Linked DNA regions of Homo sapiens: region 2 is linked to region 1. Evidence: promoter capture Hi-C in human tissues and cell types (Jung and others, 2019). All regions are on one chromosome and are shown on one strand. Each heading gives the region's core, a stretch centred on a gene start or on the middle of the fragment in contact. The rest is flanking DNA. Distances are from core to core; before and after follow the strand shown.

Region 1 (5,491 bases), core at 1,629-4,128:
ACTAAGCCTAGCAAGCAGAGATACCCAACCAATATGTGTTGAAGTGAAACTGTTCACTTTTAAGCATGAGTTATTTTCAAAAGCTTGAACCAGAACTGAGCTTGTCCCAGATTGTCTGCAGAACAGCATATGATTTCTGCTCCACTTTATTTTTTCAACCCATAAATGACCCAAAAAGGAGGAATGAAACATTTCCAGTAACTAAGGTTGCCAGAAAAATACAGGCTGCCCAGTCGAAACTGAATTTAGGATAAACAACTAATAATATTTTGTAGTATAAGTTCGTACCAAATATTACATGGGACATAGGTAAAAACAATAATTCACTGTTTATCTGAAATTCAAATTTAACTGGGCAGCCCACCTTTTTATTTGCTAAATCTGGAAAACCTAACAGTGCTTTGTTAAAAATTCTCAGAGGACTCGGAGAACGCTTCCTTTAATGCACCTGGGGATTTGTATGCAAGCTCCGCAAACTTCTCAATCATCCAGATTTCATGTCTGTTAATGCAACTAGGTTTCTTTCTGAACATCTCAGTAACGTGCTTTAAGAAATGCTGCTTAATTTATTACATGACATTTTCACTTATTTTGTCCATTTCATAGAATTTTTCTTATAATACAATTTATCGAAGATTTTACAAAGAATACTGTAATTTTGCTTAAGATCTCTTGGAAAGCTAACATTTATAGAGTTATTATCATGCCTCAGTTAAGTCCTGGCTGCAAGTATTAATTTTTGAAATTTTCATATTTTCAATTAAATCAGCAGAATGCAAAAAGAGAAATAAACAAATCTTTGATTTGGAGATTTATTTTCTTCATTAATCAAGCACAGCAATACATAGTATCCTTACTAACAGCCTTGCAGAAGCAGCCTGGCAGGCGGAGGTGGAGCCTGTGATGTAACTGCGGTAGGTCTTTGTTGGAAAAGCCTTCCCTAAATGTAAAACATCTGTAAATTGAAGCACTTCAGCTTCACTGTGCATGGGCTGGCAAGATTAAAGAGTTGCTTCTTTCAGCATCCTGTACTGGAGGCTTAAAATTTTGTTCCACAGAGGAATTCCTTATAGGTCTTTACGAAGATTACGTATCTATCTCACCAAAGCTGGGAGAAAAGCAGGCTTTTTCTGCAAAAGAGAACCATTTCGAGTACTGATTGCTGTGTGTGCTGGTTTACTGGTAAATGGTGGTGATGCAATGGAAGTTATAACCCAAAGTGTAGGAAGACGCCCTACAACCTGTTCCAGTCCTCAACGTTCCCTACGTTAATGGGTTCTTCTTTCAGTGTTCTTGACAGTGATGTCTTACAGAGAAGACATTTATTTCTTCTTCCTATGAAAAAGATTAAGATGAGAGAAATACCTCCCAATGTAGATACAAGAGTGTGCCTTTGGCAAAATACCAACTAAACTGACCCCCGAGAAAACTTCTGGGGGAGGGAATGACTAAGTCTGCTGTAACTACGTGTTGTCATAATAGGTTAATGAATTAAGACATTTATCCCAATACAAGCATACTACCTGCTTTCCACCATATTGGCAGCACCAGTTAAGGACGGTTGTCAAGCCACCGGCACAAAACGTATACATTGCAGAGATGCAGAACAATGCCTGGATGCCTGCCCAAAATTGGTCTCTCCAAATGACAGACTCAATTGATAGTACCAATCTACGGCCCACTGGGGGTTAGCAGCGTATTTTCCTAGGTGGTGGGGGAAAGGGATGAAATGTGGAAAGCTCAGGGCACTGTGCAGAGCAGAAAGGCTGACAACATATTCATTAAACTTGATCTGAAGCAAGTGAGCCCGTGAGGTCGTTCCTGAAATATTCATAAGATGTGTTACCGAACTCGCCGCTTAGAGGTTGAGCATAAACACTGAGTCAGAACAGCCCGTACCCACACTTGGAAAACAAAAAAAAGCACCCACAACAGCTCACCCCACCACCACACTCCACTGCTCTGCTTTTAACAGCCCCGTCAGCTGTCAGCTGTCACTCCCCACTCGGCTGTCCAATTCTACCTGCCCGGGAAAGAGATGCTCCAATATTGAAGTGCGGAGTTTCCCAGCAGTTGGAGGAGGCGCAGCTCAACAGCCCAGCCGACCGCTCCTCCCAGCTCGCTGCGCGGAGGACCCCACAGTCCGGCGGCCCCGCAGCCCGGCTGCCTAGCTCCTCCCTGGAGACCGAAGCCCACAAGGCAAGGGGTTCCCAGGGACCCAGACCAGCCCCTCGCCCCAGCCAGGCCGCCCTTGTCCCGCCTTCCATTTTGGCTCTGTCTGGGATCCCTTCCCCGAGCCCTCGGCGTTAGGTCGCTAGGCGACCTACGCCCGGGCCGAGATGCAAACAGCCTCTCGCGCCGACCTGCAGCCTCTCGGGTGTTAATTGGGAGGACAGGATAGAAGGGGAAATCACTGTCCTGGGTGACCCCGGAGCCCCTGCACCAAGGCAGAGTGCACTTTCATTCCCGTTCCCTCTCTGCCCCCGATGCTTAGCATTTCTGCTGCCTCCCAGGCACAGCGCAGCTTGCGTGATGCCTCGCGTCCTCGCCGCACCTCTCTCCTCCCCAAGGGCATTCGCCCCTACTCCCTAGGCTCCTCTGGGGTCGCCAATCACCTGGACTCTGGCGGCGGTAGGCTCAGCAGCTCCCGGCGCGCGGCGGCGTGGTCTTCATCTCCGCCTTCCCCAGGCGCTCCGGCTACGCGCTCCGCGGCGGCGAGCGACGCGCTCGGTCCCGGGCGCCGAGGCTGGACAGGGGCGGCCGCGGCTGCCGCACTGGCTGCGGGCGCGGAAGGGGCGGGGGCGGGGCAGGAATCTGGGTCGCGTGGAGCGGAGCAAGCCGGGATGCACCCGGGGCGGCTGGCGGCGAGGAGGCGACCGAGAGCAGCGGGGGAGGGCGTGCAGAGGCTTCCCTGGGAGCACGAAGCGGGCGGCTACTGAGCATGCCCAGTCCGGGAGCCGGGGGCGCGGGCGCGGTGCTGGGGGAGAGAGCGCGGCACCCAGTGCCGGAATCTGGGGGGAAAGGGTTAAATCTGCGGACCCCGCTGCTGTGGGAGGTGGCTGGTGTGGCCCAGTTTAATTGCTCCCGGGTGGCCTCCCTGGAGGAGCCCACGACAGGAAGATGGTGAACCTGAGATGACCTGTCAATGGGATTCCCAGACAGTCCGGGCAAGGTGTGTTCCCCGCCCTCTCCCTGGATAATTGTCCAGAAGTCAAACTTTGTTTTAGTTCAGCTCCAACCTCCCTCGTCTCACCGAGCACCCAGTGACTCTTCCAATCCTGATCCCCACCCTTCACCTGCCTTCCCGGGACTGCAGAACCCTATCCCTCACCCCAACCGGCAGCCCCCGCCTTTCCCACTCCTGGCCCAGTCGGGTCAGATTCTCAAAGAGCCAGCTCTTTAATTAGGTGTAATTGAGAGATCGTGTCAATCCTGCGAGGTCCATATCTGCATTTCAACAAGGGCTTTAGAAGCAATACCGTAACCCCGGGGTTAATTATAACAGGATGAATTATAGACACCCTCGTCCGGGGCTGTTTGGGGGAACATTGCTTCGTGGGGCCCCAGAAGCCACTTCATACAGACAGAGAGAGAGAGAGAGAGAGAGAGAGAGAGAGAGAGAGAGAGAGAGAGAGAGAGAGAGAGAGAGAGAGAGAGAGAGAGAGAGAGAGAGAGAGAGAGAGAGAGAGAGAAACCTGTGCCTTCCGGATTGCATTTCATGTTTGATGAAGAACGTTTTCTCCATAGCTAATCAAAAAAGTCTCTTTAATGAGGCCGCATGGGGTTGGGGAAAGACCAAATGAGCTTCGAGGTCGGCGCTTATTTTAGTTTCATTCATCACTCCAAGCCGGTTACCTGACCGTCTTGTGCCTCTGTTTCCTCACCTGTAAAACAAAGGGTGGTTAATACCTACCTCTGCGGGCTGTTGTGAGGATTACTTGGGCAGCTGGCGGCGCGGAGCAGCCTGGATACCAAAGCATCTGCCTGTCCCGCAGTGGATGTTCCCTGAATAAAAGTCTCTGCAGGTTCCACCTCCACTATTCTGTGTTTATGAAAAGTTGGGTTAGTGATAATCCTTAAATGCTGAACATTTATCTTATTTCCTCTTCACATTAAATGACCTTAAAGCCTTGACCTTTCTGATTTTTTTAATCATTGTTAAAAGCATTAGCCACTATTTACTTTTCTTTCTTTTCAGGGAGATATGAAGGATACCTCCCTGAATAAACGTCTTGGAAAAAGATAGACCTTTGGAGGGAAAAGCTTCTCGGGAGAGATTCATTAGGGATAGATTAATCCACCTGACAAAAGAATTTTACTCCATAGTCTTTTAAACGTAATTTGCTTGCATCTCCCTGTGGTCCTTGTTTCACAACTATTGCATGAAGTAATGTATGCCTGTATGGAAGGAAATTTACTTCCCATGCATACTGTTGACTATTTAAGTATCAGAATTCAAAAGATAAACTTTTTATTATCCCCCAAACATACTATTTTTTTAATAACACATTGCTTTATTCATGGTGTTCCACCCTTTCTGAAATACCATTCTCAAAAAAAAAAAAAAAAAAAAAGAAATACCATTCTCTCTCATTCTATTTCATGAAGTGCTACTCACTCTTCAAGCTCAAATGTCACCTTCTCTCTGAAGCCTACCCTGAACCTCAAGACAGAGTGAATGCTGTGCTCTCATAGCACCAGTGCATACTGCTATCACAGTACTCATCACAGCCTATCACTGTGGTTCAAGCAATGTAAAACTACTTACTGAGCAACTGTTATTTGCAGGCGCCATTCTACATGTTAGGAAAATAAGAACAAACAAGACAAAGTTCCTGCCCTCATGGAACTTACAGTCTAGTTGAAAAAGACAGAAAATAAACACCTAAACTGTAAATAATCACTAAGGACAGAAGTCTAGTAATTCTGTTAATTTTTGTCTTTGTGTTATCCATCAAATTACGCTATAGAGTCTTGACTCATCCTTCCAAAAAACATCAATAAAAATATTAATATTGGCTCTAGGCCAAACAAATGACATGGACATGGATCTCTGCCAGTTTGTTGCTGAACCAGTGACTTTTACTCCTTTCAGTTGATTCCCTCAGCTAAAACTTTCCTAAACTCAAACCACTCAAGGTAGGTAGCTGCAATCCCATGTGATGAATGGAAAATGGTAGGGGAGGGCTAGAGAGTTTAATCTCCACAACAAATTATATCCTTTATCTAACCTTTAGGAATGGCATTTCTAAAATGTCCAGAATCAACCTGGATCCCCAGATCTCCTGCATCCCAAAAGTCTCTTCCAGGGTCTTGCACACCACTCCCACCCTCTCACCTTTTCACCATCTTTGGCCTCTATTTATGTCAATAGTTATTCTCTGTCATACATCTTCTGTTTGAATCTACCTACTGTCTGAATGACAAGCTTTTCTCTCTGATTCTCTTATTGTCTAAGTGTGAGGCAGCCTTGGTATCACTTAGAACTGAC
Region 2 (5,491 bases), core at 2,238-4,737, 170 kb before region 1:
TTTTTTTGTTTGTTTTTTTTTTTTTTTTTTTTTTTTTGCTTTTTAACTTGTATTTTTGTTTTATAGGTCCTATATGATTTGTGCTTTAAAGAGGTTCTGTTTTGATGTGTTTCCAGGATTTGTTTCAAGATTTAGAGCTCCTTTAACAGTTCTTATAGTAGCTGGTGGCTTGTTAGTGATGAATTCTCTCAGCATTTGTCTGAAAAAGACTGTATCTTTCCTTCATATATGATGCTTAGTTTTGCTGTATACAAAATTCTTGGCTGATAATTGTTTTGTTTGAGGAGGCTAAAGATAGGGCCCCAATCCTTCTAGCTTGTAGGATTTCTGCTGAGAAATCTGCTGTTAATCTGATAGGTTTTCCTTTATAGGTTACCTGGTGCTTTGTCTCACAGCTCTTAAGATTCATTCCTTCATCTTAACTTTAGATAACCTGATGACAATGTGCCTAGGTGATGACCTTTTTATGATGATTTTCCCAGGTGTTCATCGTTCTTCTTGTATTTGTGAGAGGTGAAGCCGGCTGGGCTTCTGGGTCAGGTGGGGACTTGGAGAACTTTTATGTCTAGCTAAAGGATTGTAAATGCAGCAATCAGTGCTCTGTGTCTAGCTAAAGGTTTGTAAATGCACCAATCAGTGCTCTGTGTCTAGCTAATCAGGTAGGGGACTTGGAGAACTTTTCTGTCTAAAGGATTGTAAACGCACCAATCAGCGCTCTGTGTCTAGCTAATCGGGTGGGGACTTGGAGAACTTTTCTGTCTAGCTAAAGGATTGTAAATGCACCAATCAGTGCTCTGTGTCTAGCCAAAGGTTTGTAAACACACCAATCAGCACTCTGTTAAAAATGCACCAATCAGCGCTGTGTCTAGCTAAAGGTTTGTAAACGCACCAATCAGCACTCTATAAAATGGGCCAATCAGCACTCTGTAAAACGGACCCATCAGCTCTCTGTAAAATGGACCAATCAGCAGGATGTGGGTTGGGCCAAATAATGGAATAAAAGCAGGCCATCCAAGACAGCACCGGCAACCCGCTAGGGTCCCCTTCCATGCTGTGGAAGCTTTGTTCTTTTGCTCTTCACAATAAATCTTGCTGCTGCTCACTCTTTGGGTTCGCACTACCTTCATGAGCTGTAACACTCAATGCGAAGGTCTGCGGCTTCACTCCTGAAGTCAGTGAGACCATGAACCCACCGAGAGGGATGAACAACTCCAGACGCACCACCTTTAAGAGCTGTAACGCTCACTGTGAAGGTCTGCGGCTTTACTCCTGAAGTCAGCAAGACCACGAACCCACCAGGAAGAACGAACAACTCTGGACACGCCACCTTTAAGAGCTGTAACACTCACTGCAAAGGTCTGTGGCTTCACTCCTGAAGACAGCAAGACCGTGAACCCACCAGAAGGAATAAACTCTGGGCACATCTGAACATCTGAAGGAACAAACTCCGGACACACCATCTTTAAGAACTGTAACACCGCCAGGATCCGCGGCTTCATTCTTGAAGTCAGCGAGACCAAGAACCCACGGGAACCATTCCAGACACATTTGGATGTCTAGGTCTCTAGGAAGGCTGGGGAAGTTTTCCTCTATTATTCCCCCAAATATGTTTTCCAAACTTTTAGATTTCTCTTCTTCCTCAGAAACACTGATTATTCTTAGGTTTGGTTGTTTAACATAATTTCAGACTTCTTGGAATCTTTGTTCATATTTTCTTATTTTTTTTTTTGTCTTTGTTGGATTGGGTTAATTCAAAGACCTTGTCTTTGAGCTCTGAATTTCTTTCTTCTACTTGTTCAATTCTATTGCTGAGACTTTCCAGAGCATTTTGCATTTCTATAAGTGTGTCCAATGTTCCTTGAAGTTTTGATTGTGTTTTCTTTATGCTATTTCCTCAAATATTTCTCCCTTTGCTTCTTGTATCGTTTCTTGGATTTCCTTGCATTGAGATTCACCTTTCTCTACTGCCTCCCTGATTAGCTTAATAACTAACTTTCTGGATTCTTTTTCAGATAAATCAGGGATTTCTTCTTGGTTTGGATCCATTGCTGGTGAGCTAGTGTGATTTTCTGGCGGGTGTTAAAGAGCCTTGTTTTGTCATATTACCAGAGTTGGTTTTCTGGTTCCTTCTCATTTGGATAGACTCTGTCAGAGGGAAGGTCTTGAGCTGAAGGCTGTTGTTCAGATTCTTTTGTCCCACGGGGTGTTCCCTTGATGTAGTCCTCTTTTCATATGGATGTGGCTTCCTATGAGCTGAGCTGCAGTGATTGTTATCTCTCTTCTGGGTCTAGCCACCAAATCTGCCAGGCTCTGGGCTGGTATTGAGGGTTGTCTGCACAGAGTCCTGTGATATGAACTGTCTATGGCTCTCTCAGCCGTGGATACTAGCACCTGTTCCAGTGGAGGTGGCAGGGGGTTGAAATGGACTCTGTGAGGGTTCTTAGCTTTGGTGGCTTAATGGTCTATTTTTGTGCCAGTTGGCCTCCTGCCAACCACTTGGAGGAGGTTGGCACTTTCCAGAGAGCATCAGCTGTGGTGGTATAGAGAGGAACTGGTGGTGGGTGGGGCCCTAGAACTCCCAAGAGTATATGCCCTTTGTCTTCAGCTAGCAGGGTTGGTCGGGAAGGTCCATCAGGTAGGGGCAGGGCTAGGTGTGTCTGAGCTCACACTCTCCTTGGGTGGGTCTTGCTGCGGCTGCTGTGGGGAATGGGGGTGAGGTTCCTAGGTCAATGGAGTTATGTACCTAGGAGGATTATGGCTGCCTCTGCTGAGTCACGCATGTTATCAGGAAAGTGGGGGAAAGCCGGCAGTCACAGGCCTCACCCAGCTCCCACGCAATCCAAAGGGTCGATCTCACTCCCACTGTGCCCCTCCAACAGCCCTGAGTCTGTTTCCAGGCAGAGGGAGAGCAGGGCTTGAGAACCTGCTTCAGGCTACCTGTCTCCCAGCTGCAAAAATAAAGGGCTTTGGTTCTTCCCCCATCTACAGAGTCTGCACACCAGATTTGCACCCTCCCCCGAGTTCTGGCCAGGAGGCTTCTCACCAGGTTCAAATTGTTACAAAGTTCACCTGGAGACTTCCTTCTCCCTGTGGTGTTTACCCCTGCACCTCTGTCCACCCTCCCAAAGAATCCTTGTGGTGCTAGGCAGGAATGGCCTGCTTGGGGACCCAGCGAGCTCCCAGGACCTTTCTCGCTGCTTCCTCTACCCCTGTATTTCACTTGGCTCTCTAAATTGACTCAGCTCCAGGTATGGTCAGAAAATTCTCCCGCAAACTAGACCTTCAGTTTCCCCAGTGGGGGTGTGTGTTCAGGAGTGGAGGATCTCCCTTTCCCACTTCTGCAGTTTGGGCACAGTGTTTGGGGTGTCTCCTGGGTCTTGCAGGAGCAGTCCACTTCCTTCAGAGGGTCTGTGGGTCCTCTCGGGACTCCTGGTTTGTTATTGAAGTTGTTCTGGAGCTTAAGTTCACGATGTGAGCCTCCACACAATGCTCTGTCCATCTGAGTCAGAGCTGCAATCTACTCCTGCCTCCCATCTGCCATGATGATCATAGTCAGAAGGTGCTACACATTTTTAAATGACCACATCTCACAGGAACTTAGTCACTATGGGGAGGACAGTCCCAAGAGCATGGTACTAAACCATTTGTGAGAAATATTCCCCCATGGTCCAACCATCTCCTACCAGGCCTCACCTCCAACACAAGAAATTACAATTCAACATGTGATATGGGTAGGGACACAGATCCAAACCATTCCATACATGCTTCTTATCTCACCCTTGGGAACTCGCCTGCTGCCATGTGAACAAAGCCTGGGCTACCCTCCTGGCTAATGAGAGACACTGGCACTGTTACCTCCTCAGCTCTAGATGGCAGTAGACAATTCCCAGAACTCTTCAGCTGAGTGCAGCCCAAATTGCCAACCTACAAAAACATAAATAAATTGTGCTGTTTTAAGCTACTAAGCTTTGGGATAGTTTGTTAAGCAGCAGAAGCTAATTGATACTTGACTACACACTATGCTGCCTCTAGATTATACTTACTTTGTACAACAAATTTCATAGATGATTTTGCATGTTGTCTCATTTAATTTTCACAATTACTACACGAGATGGGATCTAAAAAAATAGAGATTGTGGGAATTTAATTAACTTGTCCAACATCAATTGCTAATGAGTGGAAGAAGCAGAGTTAAAATGTATAAAATAGGCTGGGCATGGTAGCTCATGCTTGTAATCCCAGCACTCTGGAAGGCTGAGGCAGGTGGATCACTTGAGGTCAGGAGTTTGTTTGAGACCAGCCTGGCCAACATGGTGAAACCCCATCTCTACTGAATATAGAAAAATTAGCCAGGCATGGCGGCACATGCCTGTAGTCCCAGCTACTTGGGAGGTTGAAGCACAAGAATCGCTTGAACCCAGGAGGTGGAGGTTTCAGTGAGTTGAGATTGCGCCACTGCACTCCAGCCTGGACAACAGAGCGAGACTCCGTCTCAGAAACAAAAAAAAAGGGCTAAAATTTATAAAATTTCCTAAAAATCGTAGGTCAAATGAGACTTCAATCAGTGCTGCTAAGGAACAGCGGCTACTTCTGATTCCGATTCCAGATATGATGGTGAATGAGCAGAGCTGCTGGCTGTCTCTTCTAACTGAACTGTAGAGATGCCACGGAAATGAGAGAAAAGCTCTGGCATTTGAAGTACTAACGCAAAATTCGTGAGAAACCTTTGAGGAGATGCAAAGTGATTATGACCTGGTATGAAAAGGAAAACTCAGTTTGGGCAGAAGGCCAGGCTCCAGTGGGATGGAGGGGCAAGGGGACTTTGAGATATGTGTTTTTTTTTGTATATTGTCCTGGGTAGATCATTGATATCTCTATTGTAAGTAGAAAATAAATGTAGTAGTTCCAGTCCAAAGCCTCAAGTCAGTGGGACAAAAGCAGCGTGGTTGGCTGGAGTGAGGAACAGTTAACAATGGGGCAGTCAGATAATTGAGTCTTTGTGTGTTCCCTGCTCTCTCCCATCTCCCCACACTTCTAGGATTGGAGAGTTGAAATGGGGTGAGAAAGGATCTTTCAGTGGGTATCTTTGAGGGTAAAGGTTTATGTAGCTTCTGCAATAATCTGGTATGAAGGTCAGAATTACCTGGTGAAGTTGTAAAATATGAAATGACACTCATCCTCCCCAACTCCCCAGAAATGGCACAAGCAAGAGTCTGGGCCTTAGCTCCTCATTCTGGGTACACATTACCAGGGGAAAATGAACTCAGAGGCAACAAAATATTGAAATAGTGGAGGAGTCCAATCTGTTTGACGGAAAAACCACCACCCAAATGACCTACCTGGAGGAACCAGAATTGGTGTAAGACATGAACCATGATTTAAAAATAAGCTTAATAAATATCCTCAAAGAAACAGGAGATTATATTGGTTAATATGAAGCAAGGACAAAAAAACAACTAAGACGATCCAAGTAGATATCTCAGGTATAAAA

Evidence for each region. The method cuts DNA at HindIII sites, captures the fragments that hold promoters and counts their contacts. A contact is called where the count stands out against the background at its distance.
Region 2: a contact is called between a fragment that was not itself captured here and the fragment with the promoter of ELMOD1 in region 1, in 1 of the 25 tissues and cell types used here (aorta).

What each region holds. Positions count from the first base shown.
Region 1 is chr11:107,588,534-107,594,024 of GRCh38, reverse strand. ELMOD1 (ELMO domain containing 1) reads right to left here and starts at 2,878. Exons shown (of 12, transcript NM_018712.4): 1 at 2,616-2,878. RefSeq lists an enhancer at 2,376-2,435 and silencers at 2,686-2,825, 2,886-2,995. The HindIII fragment of the contact is 8,803 bases long and covers 1-4,846 here.
Region 2 is chr11:107,756,227-107,761,717 of GRCh38, reverse strand. No RefSeq gene overlaps it. Among named protein-coding and RNA genes, the nearest start is that of SLN, 47 kb to the right of the region's middle. The HindIII fragment of the contact is 6,096 bases long and covers 440-5,491 here.